Linked DNA regions of Homo sapiens: regions 1, 3, 4 and 5 are each linked to region 2. Evidence: promoter capture Hi-C in 16 types of primary human blood cells and fetal thymus (Javierre and others, 2016). All regions are on one chromosome and are shown on one strand. Each heading gives the region's core, a stretch centred on a gene start or on the middle of the fragment in contact. The rest is flanking DNA. Distances are from core to core; before and after follow the strand shown.

Region 1 (2,700 bases), core at 16-2,515, 320 kb after region 2:
ATTATTTCCCTTGGATCAATAGAGAAGCTTTGATGTTGTCTTTACAGCCAAGAGAAGGCTTCTTTCCATTTATCTCCCACCTTGTTGAAAATGCACAGAGCCCTTCTCTAAAACTCACCCTCCCTTAATATAAAAATGAGCATTTCATTGTGTTTTCAATGTTGTTGCTATTTTTTAGGCACTGTCATCTTTCAGAGCCACCTCCACCTGGGGACTGGGAGCCAGTTTCACTCTGCGACATGAAGTCCCGTCTTGGGCCTGGGCCTTCTGTCCGTTCCCCTCCGGCTCCCATCATGGTTCCTCTCTGCACTGCAGGCCTGGGGCCACTATTCATTCTAAACTTCTTCTAGATGCTTGTGTTATCAAGGATGTCATTTTTATTACCCTCTCTACACTCGCATGTCTGCCTTGCATAAAGTTAGCTCTCAGTGCATGTTGGTTGAATCGAACTAAGAGGAGAGAGTGAGGAATTTGAACTTCTCTCCAGCAGAGTCACCTAGAGCCAGTCGAGGTTCATTTCAGAACCTGTACCCTAACTGGGACAGGAAAGACTGTAGCTGGAGGAAGAAGAGAGGCTATGGTTTTCTAGAGCATCATTCTGTATGTTAAGTCCAAACAATACTAACGTTTTTTTAAAAAACTCCCATTATATATAATAAATTCTTAGCATACTTTGGGGGTGGGGCTGGGAGGGATGATTTACTAACCATTTTTTGCTCATGCTTAATAAATATTTCCTGAAAGTATACAAGTCAAGAATCCAATTCAAGAAATGAGAAAAAAGAGCATCTTCCTCAAAAAAAAGAAAAAAAATTTTTTTAAATCAATGAAATTCATTTTGTACTGTTTACAATTTTATTGCTGCATCCTAGGCACTGACACATAATAAATGCTCAATAAATATTTATTGAACAAAAATAAATCAATAAACAAATATTTCTTGAATAGATATTTACATAGAAATGAGGCACCAGAGCAAGTGCAAATATCCCCTCAGACTCCCTGTCTTCCTCAATCCAAATCCAACCACCTCCAAGAAACAGGGCTTTCCCCAACACTGGCATTTTCATTTTTCTGAATTTCTAAAGCCATAGGTTTCTGCTTAATTATACCTTTATTTACTTAAAAAATATTTATAGAGCACTATGTGCCAGTCACCATTCCAAGCACTCATATATATCTCATTTAATCCTTAAACAATTCCATGAGTGGGTATTAATATTACTAATATTATTATCTTCAACTTACTGATGAGAAAATTGAGGCATGAAAGAGCTAAATAACTTGGCCAAGATCACACAGCCAGTGAGTACTGGAGTCAGGATTTATCTATTTTTATTTTATTTTATTTTAGAGACAAGATCTTACTCTGTTACCTAGGCTTGAGTACAGTGGTACAATCACAACTCACAGCAACCTCGACCTCCTGGGCTCAATCAATCCTCCCACCTCAGCCTCCCAGGTAGCTAGGACTACAGGGTCACACCACCATACCAGGATAATTTTTTTTATTTTTTTGTAGAGACAGGGTCTCACTTTGTTGCCCAGGTTGTTCTCAAACTCCTGGGCTTAAACCGTCTTTCTGCCTCAGCCTCCCAAGGTGGGTAAGCCCCAGAATCTGTTTTTGTGACCACTATTCTGGGCCACTACCACCCTTGCCATGATTGATCTTCAGTTGTTTCATGCCAACCTGGGCTCTCTCGTTGTCCTGTGAGCCTCCTGACAGGTGGGACCACAACTCCTGCTGCTTTTATCACATTCCCCCATCATATTTATTCAATAAATGTTTATTAAGCACCTCCTTTGTTTCTGGCATGTTCTAGGTTCCAGGAATACAGCAATGAACCAGACTGTCCAATCCCCTCCTCATGGAGTTTACATTCCAATGAGAGAAAAACAGACGATACCCAGGCAAACAAGATACTTAGAGATCATTACAAGTGCGATAAAGGAATAAAACAGAGTGAGGAGTCAGGAGGCCTTGAGGCAGAGGGAGCCTCCTTACATCATGGGGTGAGAAAGGGCTGTCTGCGCTGAGCCCTGAGGAAAAAGAGCCAGCCAGTGAGGAGTTAAGGGAAGAGAGCTCAGGTGCAAAGAGCCTGAGGCAGAAATGGGCTTGGCAAGTTCTGGAAGGAGAAAGATGCCTGGAGGGTGACCAAGCAGGATAGGAGAGGGGAACAGAGCTCAGAGCTTGCAGGCCTGGGGAAGTTTGGATTCTGCACACGGTGTTGAGAGAAGCCACAGGACATGACACAGCGCTCACATGACACAGTGAACACTAAACGACTACCACATCTCTATACCTGGGTGCCTCTCTGCACACCAAGCTACCTGGAACCACTGAGCACTGCCTCCGGGGTGCCCCGTTACCCCCAAAATTGCTGTTCTAGTAGGGTGCCGGGGACAACCTTGTGGGCCTGGAGTCAGATGGTCTGAGTTTCAATCTCTACTCTTCTGATCACACGTTGAATGACTTTAGGCAAATTATTGAACCTAAGCTTCAGTTTTCTAGCCTGAAAAAAGTACATCATAAAGGACATATCCCAGATTACTGTAAGGGTTAAATGAGCGGATAGGTACCACATGCTCAGTCGTTCTTATGTTGTGGTGGTGATGTTTATTAATCGTGCTAGGAGTTCAGCCCTGAAGTGTAAACACTTCCTAGCAGAACGTGCTGTAATTTCTGGCATCAGCTATACC
Region 2 (2,700 bases), core at 116-2,615:
AAAGGCAGAGACCAGAGCTGCCCACCCAGGGACTCCCAGGGCAACAAAGCCAGGCAAACTGAGAGGTGGGGGCGCGCGGCCCCCGCCAGCCCGAGGCCCGGGCGGAGCGCAAGCCCAGCCAGCCGTGCCCGACGGGGGCGCCGCAGTGTGGGGGGGCAGGTGTGGCGGGCGGTCCGGAGGCACTGCGGCAGCTCGGGTGGGGCTGGGGGCGGTCTCTCTGTGCGCCCGAGGCTGTGCCCGCCGGACCCTCACGGCCCCGCCCAGGGTCCCCGGCGTACCGCTATTCGGCCTCCGCAGAGCGCGCCACTGGTGCGAGCACCGGGCGAGGAGCTGACCCTACCCGCTGACGTCTCCCTCACCGACCCCCTTCAAGCTACCACTCCCGAGGCTGGGACTTCTAAAAGCAGCAGCCCCACCCCGCAACTTGGGGTCCCATTGTCCTTTCTGAGAGCTGCAGCCAAGGCCCCAAGGGCGGTAGCGAGGCGGGCTCTGTCTGGTGGCGAAGCGCAGGCGGTTCTGCATCCCAGCATCTCCCCGGGGAGGGGGGGGCGGGGGGAGCGGGCGTGGCCCTAGGACTAGCCTAGTCATTCTGAGGAAAGAAAGGATCGGGAGGTTTGAAATCAGAAAAGGCGTTTCTCAGGGGCTGAGGTAGCCGTGGTGAGGATGAATCCCACGCGGGCCCTGGCACATGGGCTTCGGCCCCAGGTCTGCGGTGGTGGGGGTCCCAGCCTTTTCCTGAGGCCAGAAGAGGACTGAAAGGAGTGGTTGCATCAGGTCTCCCCCACCCTTCTGCCTCCTGCGGTTGCGGCTTTATTGTGGCCTCTGCTCCCCTGACACCTGCATTTCACTTAGCGGGAGAGGCGGTGGCCAACTCAGCACAGGCTGCGGACTCAGCGTGGTGACAGATCCCTCAAGGTTATTGGAGACTCTCCCTCTGGGTCTCATATCTAATAATTCGGATTATTCTTAATTAGCCCAGAAAGGGTCTGGACCAAGTATGAGAGGTGACGAGGAGAGGCATGGGTGCGGGGCGCGCGGGAGGAGCGCAGTGACCGTCGCGCCCTGGGTGGGGTCGTGTTTGCGCGTCTCCCAGCGCGCGTCTCTGGGGGCGCGGGGCCACTTACCGAGCTCGATGTTGCCGATGGCACGCCGCAGGTGCTCCTCGGTCACGATCTCGCCGACGACCACCAGCAAGTAGAACTTGCTGTCAAGGAAGCGGTGCGACAGGCTAGGCGAGGTGGACGCCGCCGGGTTGGCGATGCTGCCGGACGGCTCCGGCTCGGTGGCTTCCACCACCACGGTCGCCATCCTGCCGGCTGCTGTGCCTCGGCGAAGTGTCTCGCTCCGGCCGCTCCTCTCCACTGCGGCAGGAGAAAGGATTATCTCCGAAGGTACTGTCTCCGCTCCGCCCCCTGCGTCCCCCCTCCTCTGGCGCCGCGCGCCGCCTCCCCCTCCGCCCTCTCCCAGCGCCGCGGAGAGTGCGCGGCGGAGAGGAGCGGGGAGTGAGAGAGGGCGGGGAGGCGGCGCCGCTTTTATATGGAGACTAGGCAGGGAGCCGGGAGGAGGAGGAAGAGGAGGAGGAAAGGACCACCCGGCACATCCTCACGCGGTGGCTGCCTCCGCTCTTCCAGCCGTTGGCCCGGGGCTGATGTCATCTGCAGCAAATCATCTCGCCCGCGGCCCGGAAGCTGGAGGGACGAGGTGTGCGGACAATGGTCGGGGCAGGGCCGCGAGCCAAGGGGCTGGGGCGCCCGCTGAGCTCCTGCTGCAGCCGTGAAGGGGGAAGACGCTCTCAACCTACACCACCCACCACGTACACACCCACTGCCCACTCCTCACCCTCACCCTGTCTGTGCATGGGAATGGGATGAGTTTCCATTTTCGGAGTGGGGGTCTTTTCTCTTGTTGGAGTTGCACTAGTCAGGCCTCTGCCTTGTGTGCTGTGTATGATGTAGCCAGGTTCTCAGGAACTGGGATAGCCACAGTGGGCAGATGCGGGGCTGTGGGTACCCCGCCTAGGAAGACGGAACCTGTCTTTTCTTTGACCTTGTGGCTTTAAGAAGACGAATTTACTGATATTTACCAATATCAATATTTACCACCTTCACTTAAAGAATACATCAAAAATGCAAAACTTAAGCCTACTATTGTTCAGGCCTTGGATTCTACTCTGGCAGGGCCAAGGATGAAAAAGTACTGGCTTTGTGGTGCTCATGGGAAATGAGAGAAATGCAGATGTATTATATTAGATACCAATTTCTTTCCTTAATGTGCTGAACAGATAGTATCAGTAATAACAAAGAATAAAGAGAAGATACTGTCTCTACTCAGCAGGGTTACAGTGACTATAATGTACTTTTCAGTTCCTTGGGGAACACACAAGCAAAATTACCTCGTGACAATGATGTCTTTTAAAATACCTGTAGCATTGGGAATTTTTATTGCCTTTGTTTGTGTTTAGAAGAACTAAAAAATGTGTTTTTTGTTTTTGTTTTTTTGTTTTTTTTTTTAAGGCAGCCTATTTACAACCGTTTCTCACAAACATACTGAATATAGCTTCTGTCCCAGAAAAGGGGAGGAGGGTGAGGAAAGAGCAAAATGTGCAAACATGGTATCATAGAAGACTGGGGAATTCGAGCTTTAAGGAAGAGGAATAGATGGAAATTAGTCAACATAGCTTTAATACTAGAATGCCTGTTA
Region 3 (2,700 bases), core at 76-2,575, 260 kb after region 2:
TTAGATACATATATAAATATCTTCACTCCTGATTGAGAACCCCTCTACCATACCCCAGTGCAATATTTATGTTTGCAAAAAGAATTCCTTCGGTTAACCTCTCCAAAGGAATGCCCAAGTCACTGAAAGGAAAATTCTGGCGTCTCTGTCTAATTAAATTTAATTTTAAATGAAGCAGATATTTTCTTTGGAAGAAGTTAAAACATTTGAACTACCCTTAAAGAAGAATTTTTACTTTTTACCTTAAAAAAAGATTTTAAGGACTTTGGGTCTTTGGTCAGCACTTTGGCAATGTAAACTAACCTCCATTTTGAGTTTCTTAAAATTAATAAATTGTACCAGGATCAGCAAGTGTCTTTGTTTTGTGCCCTCTTGGTACCTCAAATTAGTTGATGAGGCAGCCATAAACCCCAACACAGGCACATAGGTTCAATCCTTAGGATGGAAAATTGCTATTTTCTGAGTCAAATTGAATAATGATCATTTGCAGTGTGGCTAGCCATGTGCCAAACACTATCCAAGCTCTATGATTACACACTGACAGCTGAAAGAGAAGACTCCAGCCCTTGCGATCATAACTAAGGAGGGAGGATAAGCACTTGAACATCCAAGCATGATATAATGCGGTGCCACACCCTCTCCATAAGCTGAGTGCTGTAGACCACTCGACTTGAAGGATACTTGCAATCTGCTGGTATGCAATGGTGAGAAGGGGAAAAAAGTTTGTAGTCATCATTTTAAGTGTGACTGCTTCTTATACTCCTTGGAGGAATAATAGCATGTTTATTTATTGAGCTTATTTATCTAGCCTCTGGTCATCTCCATGTCAGTGAGTGTGTGTCAAAGATCAGAGATACAGAGCACTGAGGAAAAAGAAGGAAAGGAAAGAAAAACAAGAATCCTGCTAAGTCAATTTAGTGAGAATCCCAAAACCTCTATATGTCATCACCCTGGCCCACCTTCAACATGAACCTTAAGGCAATTTAGCAAGAATCTCCTCATCCTTAGTCATTTTCCATCTATCGACCCCGTCTCTGCTCATTGGCTGTAAATCCTCATCTATCCTTGCAGTATTCAGAGTTGAGCCTGATCAGTCTTCCCTGTTGCAATAGTCTTGACACCTATTGCAGTGGACCTGAGTAAAGTCTTCCTCACCCTTTTAACAAGTGTCAGAATATTTTTTCGTTATACTCTTTCAAAATCATCAACTCCTGGTTATTCTTTTACTTTTACCAAGATTTAGAGTGGTGATTTTTCAAGCATGTAATACAAAACACATCTTGATTAATTATGAAATGAGAGGTAAATAATTTTAATCAAGTAATTCCTAAAGTATTGAACTTTGTGAATGATTTACCTTAAAAATTGAATTAGAGTGGATTCAAAGTTATCCCTGTAATTGCACCCCCTTGGATTGTAACATCCTCTCTTGAGTGAGAGAAAAAGAGACAGTTATAACTGATGCTTAGGAAAATGTTACATATCCTTTAGTCAATCTTAGGTCTATCATAGCCCAGAAAGCACTCCAGTATCAAAGTACTGTTAATCAAATGATTATAAACTTCTTTCCATGAAACATATACACACATATGCACACATAAAAACTATACGTTAGAACTATGCAGTAGAAGCAAACATTGCTAGTGATCACTAATATCTGGTTCTCCTCTTCCTGGTCCCCAGCACATAGGAAGAAAACATTATTCGGCCTCCTTGTAATTAAGTGGGTCACATGACTAGGTCTTACCAATGAAATGAGGGTGGACGAGATATATGTCACTTCCCACCTGGGGAAATGAAGTCAGATTCTCCTGTGTCTCTCCTCTCTTATGGACAGCCAAGGAGGCCCTGTGTTACCAGTGATGCAAGTACAAGTTAGTAAAGCCTCTGTTAGCCTGATCCCCCAAGCGACTGTATAGGGCAGAAATCCCCATGACCCTTATTACATGTGTACTGTGAGTGAGAAATAAACACTTGCTGCATTAATTACTGGTATTTCAGACTTAATATGTTATCACAATATAACCTGGCATTAAACTGACTAATTTTTCCTAAAGCATTGGCAGCAAGTAGGATGAGGTTGTACAAATCAAGCTAAGCCCATGATGGAATACCATGTATATGTCACCTATTGTACTGGGCAGGCCAAGCCTCAGAATGGTTTTCATGTTAAAATTCTTTTAAACATGTTTCCTTCTGTGCATATATCCCTATCCTGCTAACCCAAGAGCCTGGTGACCCTGGACCCAGCTAATTGGATCAAGGACAGGCACTTGCCCTAAAGATAGCCAACATACAGAGCCTGCCCATCGGTTTCTCTTTCTCAGGAATTCAGACTGGAAATATGGGTGGAGACAACATGTAGAGAGACAAAATGATACCTGGAGAAGCAAAGGAAGAGAAAAGACCTGAGCTTCGTTAGTTATGGGGCTCTAGAGTGGGGACCACAAACATCTTCTCCTGAGGGGCTAACAAGATTACCAGCTGCTTGGATTGCCTTTTGTATTAGTTTGGCAGGGTTCCCATAACAAAGTAGCACAAACTGGGTGGCTTAAACAACACAAGTGTATTGTCTCATACTTTTGTAGGCTGGAAGTCCAAGATCAAGGTGTCAGCAGGGTTGGTTCCTTCCAAGGGCTGTGAGGAAGAATCTGCACCATGCCTCTCACCTACCTTCTGGTGGGTTGCTGGCAATCTTTG
Region 4 (2,700 bases), core at 73-2,572, 340 kb after region 2:
ATATGAAATATGCCCACAGCAACATGATTATATCAGTAATTGTGAGTCTTGAAGAGCCAAACAGAAAGGCCACAGAAAATTAGCCTGATGTGATAATTTAGAGATCTGATTTTGCTATTCTCTTACTTTATGTTATTCAATGCCACCAGAAGCAGCCATCCTACCCTGTTGTTCCAGAATGTTTAAATTATTTTTTGCCATCAGCTACTCAGTTTTTCAGAGCACCACCTTCTGGCGCACATAGAGGGAACGTAACAGTTGTTTTACACTGTTGGGATACTAACCCGCAATATGAAAGCGAATTTTCCCCCTTTTCCCCATTCTGGCCAGTTTCCCCGCTCCTCAAAAATCTACCTTTCTCTTAGGGTATCTTGCCAACTGGAGCAAAAGTGGAAGTTATAAGCAGAATATAGGGGAACTTAGAACCTAGAAAAGGTAACCCAACAGGTTTGAAAAAGAAACAAGGGCCAATCCTAGAATTTGTAAGAAGTGATAAAAGACATTATGGCATTGCAACTAGGATGAATGAGCAGATACAACTATATTCTGTCATTTTATTGCTCTGCTAAAGTTTCAGTTCCAGAGAGACACTCCTGTCAGTCTCAGGTTGCATTCCCATTTCTTGGCAGGAAAGGACAAAATATCTTGACTTATGGTTCCATTGTAATGACTCAAGTAGAGAGGAGTCAGTTTCCCAAAATAGCATCAGAGTGCTTTTAGGAGAAAAAACTACTCAATAATTCCTGCAATTGACAGATAAATTATCTTTTCTAAATAGATTTATAGGACTTTTTAAAAATCTGTATAATTCAAAATTTTTCTTTGAATATATGTAGATGTGGATCTCTTCTGTTTTCATCTGAAATGCAGTGAACCCCTGCAGCCTGCAAACTTAGGTTTTATTTCATCTTTTATGATTGCTTCTATTCCATGTGTTATGCTGTCTTCCCTAGAAACACAAAGTAATCAAATGTTAGAGGTTTCATTTTCTCTCTTTCCTTCTGCTTGTGCATTTTTTTCTGCATCCTAGAAAAGCTTCTCAAATTTGTTCAGTACATAACTGATTCTGATTTACAGTTAGGTACTGATCATGTTATTGTGCTCTTGGTTTACTTGAAAGCCTTCCATATCTCAACATGCTGTCTTCTTTCAGCCTGTTGTCTCATCATGGTGTTATGTTCCTGTTTCACAACACAATGCCTCATTGAATTCTATTATTGCAGATTCTAAACAATCTCCTGTAATTTTCTTCTTGTTCCTATAGGCTCTTCAGAGATAGAATCTTTCTATGAGGTTCCAGAGTACTGTCCTTTATCCATTGTTCTGCAGTATTTTTTTACTGGGCTCATGTGTTGCTGATGTTTACTCGTTCTCAAATGAGGCAAAATCTATCCATACTCCTTGAAAGCTAACAGGCAGGTGGTATTTGCAATTGACCCCATTCTCTCTCTACTTCAGTATGAATCAAAGAATCCACTCAGGTCTTTAAGGGATAGACCAATGTGTCCTGTTCACAGTTTATTTCCCAGATAGTCATCTTGAGAAATGACCTATTGGTGAAGTAGCATCTTTCCCTACCTCCATGGTCCAGTTCTTCATGATAAGCTTCACTGTGACTTAAAATCACACCGCTCGGCAGTATCTCCCGGTACCTGGACCTTGTGTTTTAGAAAGCCCCACTCTGACATTTTTTTGGATTATGTCTGTCTCTACCGCAAGAGGAATCTGCAAGACCAAGGGCATGTGCCCACCCAGAGCCCTTCTAGACCACTTCCTAGATGCTCAAGAGCCTTGAATTCTCTGCCCAAACAACCCCAAGCCTGCTTGCAGGACCTGTACAGGCCTTGTCCATAGGTGCATCCTCCCAGGGGTAAACCACACCACTGGTATTTACACTCCCAAGCCCAAAGAATGTCCAGGGCAGCTATTTGCAGAGGCTCTGGACATTCCAGGTGGGGCATCCACACACATGTACTCAAAGATGCTTGCAATGAAGGAGACAGTGATGGAAAGGGAAGGGGGCTCAGGTGGGGGCCAATGAGCTTGGGCCCAGCCTTCTCCTAGCCACCACATTTCAGCATGAAACTCCAAGGAGTTTGAAAATTCAAAATTTGAGCCTGGCCTTCCAGACTATTTTGAAAGCGTATTTGTCAAAGTAAGTGTTAGAACTTATTTTATCTAACCTTGAACGCTCGGCCCCAGGTCCTGTAAATATTAGGGGTGACCTAAGGAGCAACTTCTAAGGCTCATCCTGCCTCCTCCCACTCACAAAGAAGCAGCTACTTAGTTCCAGAAGCTCTTCGTAAGTATGTGTGTCAGTAAGTAAAACATAATCAAGAAGGGTCCAAGCTTGCAGTCCCTGGATGGATTGCCATCACACTCATGTGTGAGCAGGGCTCCCGAAGCTTTAAAACTGGCTGTGCTGTTCTCTTTGCTTTACCTACACTCTATCAGGCATCTTCTAAAATTAAACTGTTGCATCCACATTGAAAATCTCCTCAGGCAGGTGTCATCCACACCACCTCCTTCTCACCGCCTCAATGATCTCCAACAGTATTCTACAGAATTTTTAGCAACCACGGTGTAAACCACCTTCGTGTTCCAACCAGAACTCCTGGGATCTGTGTGTGTGGTGTGTGTGCACTCCTCCAGCTTCCGTGTGTCTTTACTTCTAACAGCCCATACCTGTGGCTCTTTTAG
Region 5 (2,700 bases), core at 116-2,615, 300 kb after region 2:
CAAAAACGCCACGGCAACCTTTAAAAGCTAGAAAAGACAGGGAAACACTCTCCCAGAGCCTCCAGGAGAACTAGCCCTGCCAACACCTTGACCTTAGCCCAGTGAAACTGGACTTCTGGGCTCCAGAATGGTAAGAGAATAAAATTATGTTACTTAAAGCCACAAGCTTGTGATACTTTGTTATAGTAACAATAGGAAACTAACACATTCTGTCTTTCAAAAACTACCACAAATATTTTAACAAAATGACAATACGCTGATAGCCCTAATATGAAAATAGTTTTTAAAAAATCAATTAGAAAAACATTTTGATATTAGTAGAAATACAGGAGAGACTAACAGGCAATACACAAAAGAAAAAACAGCAATTGGCCAACATACAGGTAAAAAAAATTCAACTTTATTAATCATCAAACATATAAAGAACAAATATTTTTCACTTTTCAGATTGGCAAAAAAAAAGTTTGCTAATACTCTATATTGAGAAGTGTGTTGGCAAAAGGGCAGTTTTGCATACTATGGATGGGAGTATAAACTCATATAACATCTCTGAATGACAATTTTTCAAAATGGTTCCAAATTTCCAGCAGGTTCACACCTTAATTTACATACTCTACTTTTATGAATTTACCCAAAGTTGCAATTCCACAAATTGTGTAAAGAAATACGTATAGAATTATTCATTTAGCATTATTTGTAGTGGTGAAAAATCATGAACCACCTAAATGTTTGTAAATAGGAGATTCACCAAATAACTTATTGTGCATCTGTATAATAGAATACATACTGGTACCAAAAGTATTATTGACATGAAAAAATATGCAGGCACATCTCCTTTTATTGGGCTTTGCTTTATTGTGCTTTGCAGATATTGCGATTTTTACAAACTGAAGCTTTGTGGCAACAGTGGGTCGAGCAAATCTATTGGTGCCATTTATCTCATAGCATGTGCTCCCTTCATGTCACATTTTCATAATTCTCACAGAATTTCAAACTTTTTCATTACTCTTATATCTGCTATGGTTATCTGTGACCAATGATCTTTGATGTTACTATTGCAGTTGTTTTGGGATGCCAAGAACCACGTTCCTATAAGACGGCAAACCTAATTGATAAATGGGTGTGTTCTGACTGCTCCATCAACTAGCGATTCCCCTACTTCTCTCCTTCTCCTTGGGCCTCCTATTCCCAAAGACATACCAATACTGAAATTAGGCCAGTTAATAACCCTACAATAGCCTCTAAGTGTTCAAGTGAAAGGAAGAGTCATGTGTCTCTCACTTCAAATCAAAAGCTAGAAATGATTAAGTTTGTGAGGAAGGTATGTTGAAAGCCAAGATAGGCTGACAGTGAGATCTCTTGTGCCAGTTAGCCACATTGTGAATGCAAAGAAAAAAGTTCTTGAAGGAAATTAAAAGTGCCACTCCAGTGAACACACGAATGATAGGAAAGCCAAAGAGCCTGATTGCTGATGTGGAGAAAGTTTCAGTGGTCTGGATAAAAGATCAAACCAGCCACAGCATTCCCCTAAGCCAAAACCTAATCCAGAGCAAGGGGAAGAAGCTGCAGAAGAAAAACTGGAAGCTAGCAGAGGTTGGTTCATGAGGTTTAAAGAAAGAGGCCATCTTCATAATATAAAAATGCAAGGTGAAGCACCAAATGCTGATGTAGAAGCTATGGCAAGTTATCCAGAAGATCTGGCTAAGATCATTGATGAAGGTGGCTACGCTAAAAAACAGATTTTCAATGCGGATGAAACAGCCTTAGGGTGGAAGAAGGTGAGATCCAGGACTTTCACAGCTAGGGAGGAGATGTCAACGCTTGGCTTTAAAGCTTCAAAGGACAGGCTGACACTCTGGTTAGGAGCTAAAGCAGCTCGTGACTTTAAGTTGAAGCCAATGCTCATTTACTATTCTGAAAATCCCAGGACACTTAAGAATTGTGTAAAATCTACTCAGCCTGTGTTCTACACATGGAACAACAAAGCCTGATGACAGCACATCTGTTTATAGCGTGGTTTACTGAATGTTTTAAGCCCAATTTTGAAATCTACTGAGAAAAAAGATTCTTTTCAAAATAGTAATGTTCACTGACAAAGCACCTGGTCACCTAAGAGCTCTGGCAGGGATGTACAAGGAGATTAATGTTGTTTTCACACCTGCTAACAAAATATCCATTCTTCAGATCAAGGAGTAATTTTGGCTTTGAAGTCTTATTTAAGAAATACATTTTGTAAGGCTATAGCTCCCATAGATAGTGATTCCTCTGATGGATCTGGGCAAAGTAAATTGAAAACCATCTGTAAAGCATTCACCATTCTAGACGCCATTAAGAACATTTGTGATTTGTGGAGGGAGGTCACAAATCAACGTTAATAAGCCATTACAATGGTCTGTGCCTGTAATCCTAGCTACTCAGGAGGCTGAGGTAGGAGGATTGCCCACAAGACTGTTGTGGGCTATAATTATGCCTATGAATAGCCACTACACTCCAGCCTGGGCAACATAGTGAGATCCTGTCTCTAGAAAAAAAAATTAACAGGAGTTTGGAAGAAGCTGATTCCTACCCTCATGGATGACCGTGAGAGGTTCAAGACTTCAGTGGAGGAAGTGACTGCAGATGTGGTGGAATAGCAAGATGACAAGCATTAAAAGTGGATCCCGAAGATGTGACCAAATTGCTGCAATCTCATGATCAAAC

What was found. Contacts are between HindIII fragments. The CHiCAGO score rates a contact against its expected background, and 5 or more counts as called.
Region 1: a fragment that was not itself captured here is called in contact with the fragment with the promoter of MAP1B in region 2 in 1 of 17 cell types (endothelial precursors); the score reaches 14.5 in endothelial precursors.
Region 3: a fragment that was not itself captured here is called in contact with the fragment with the promoter of MAP1B in region 2 in 1 of 17 cell types (endothelial precursors); the score reaches 5.5 in endothelial precursors.
Region 4: a fragment that was not itself captured here is called in contact with the fragment with the promoter of MAP1B in region 2 in 1 of 17 cell types (endothelial precursors); the score reaches 6.6 in endothelial precursors.
Region 5: a contact is called between a fragment that was not itself captured here and the fragment with the promoter of MAP1B in region 2, in 1 of 17 cell types (endothelial precursors). The highest score is 5.4, in endothelial precursors.

What each region holds. Positions count from the first base shown.
Region 1 is chr5:71,783,560-71,786,259 of GRCh38, reverse strand. No RefSeq gene overlaps it. Among named protein-coding and RNA genes, the nearest start is that of CARTPT, 66 kb to the right of the region's middle. The HindIII fragment of the contact is 2,471 bases long and covers 30-2,500 here.
Region 2 is chr5:72,106,140-72,108,839 of GRCh38, reverse strand. It overlaps MAP1B (microtubule associated protein 1B), which reads right to left and starts at 1,365. Exons shown (of 7, transcript NM_005909.5): 1 at 1,125-1,365. The coding sequence starts at 1,308. LOC105379028 (a long non-coding RNA gene) reads left to right here. Exons shown (of 3, transcript XR_007058813.1): 1 at 1-65; 2 at 853-915. RefSeq lists enhancers at 1-58, 464-1,446. The HindIII fragment of the contact is 9,795 bases long and covers 1-2,700 here.
Region 3 is chr5:71,841,222-71,843,921 of GRCh38, reverse strand. No RefSeq gene overlaps it. Among named protein-coding and RNA genes, the nearest start is that of CARTPT, 120 kb to the right of the region's middle. The HindIII fragment of the contact is 4,504 bases long and covers 1-2,700 here.
Region 4 is chr5:71,765,802-71,768,501 of GRCh38, reverse strand. No RefSeq gene overlaps it. Among named protein-coding and RNA genes, the nearest start is that of CARTPT, 48 kb to the right of the region's middle. The HindIII fragment of the contact is 570 bases long and covers 1,038-1,607 here.
Region 5 is chr5:71,802,105-71,804,804 of GRCh38, reverse strand. No RefSeq gene overlaps it. Among named protein-coding and RNA genes, the nearest start is that of CARTPT, 84 kb to the right of the region's middle. The HindIII fragment of the contact is 940 bases long and covers 896-1,835 here.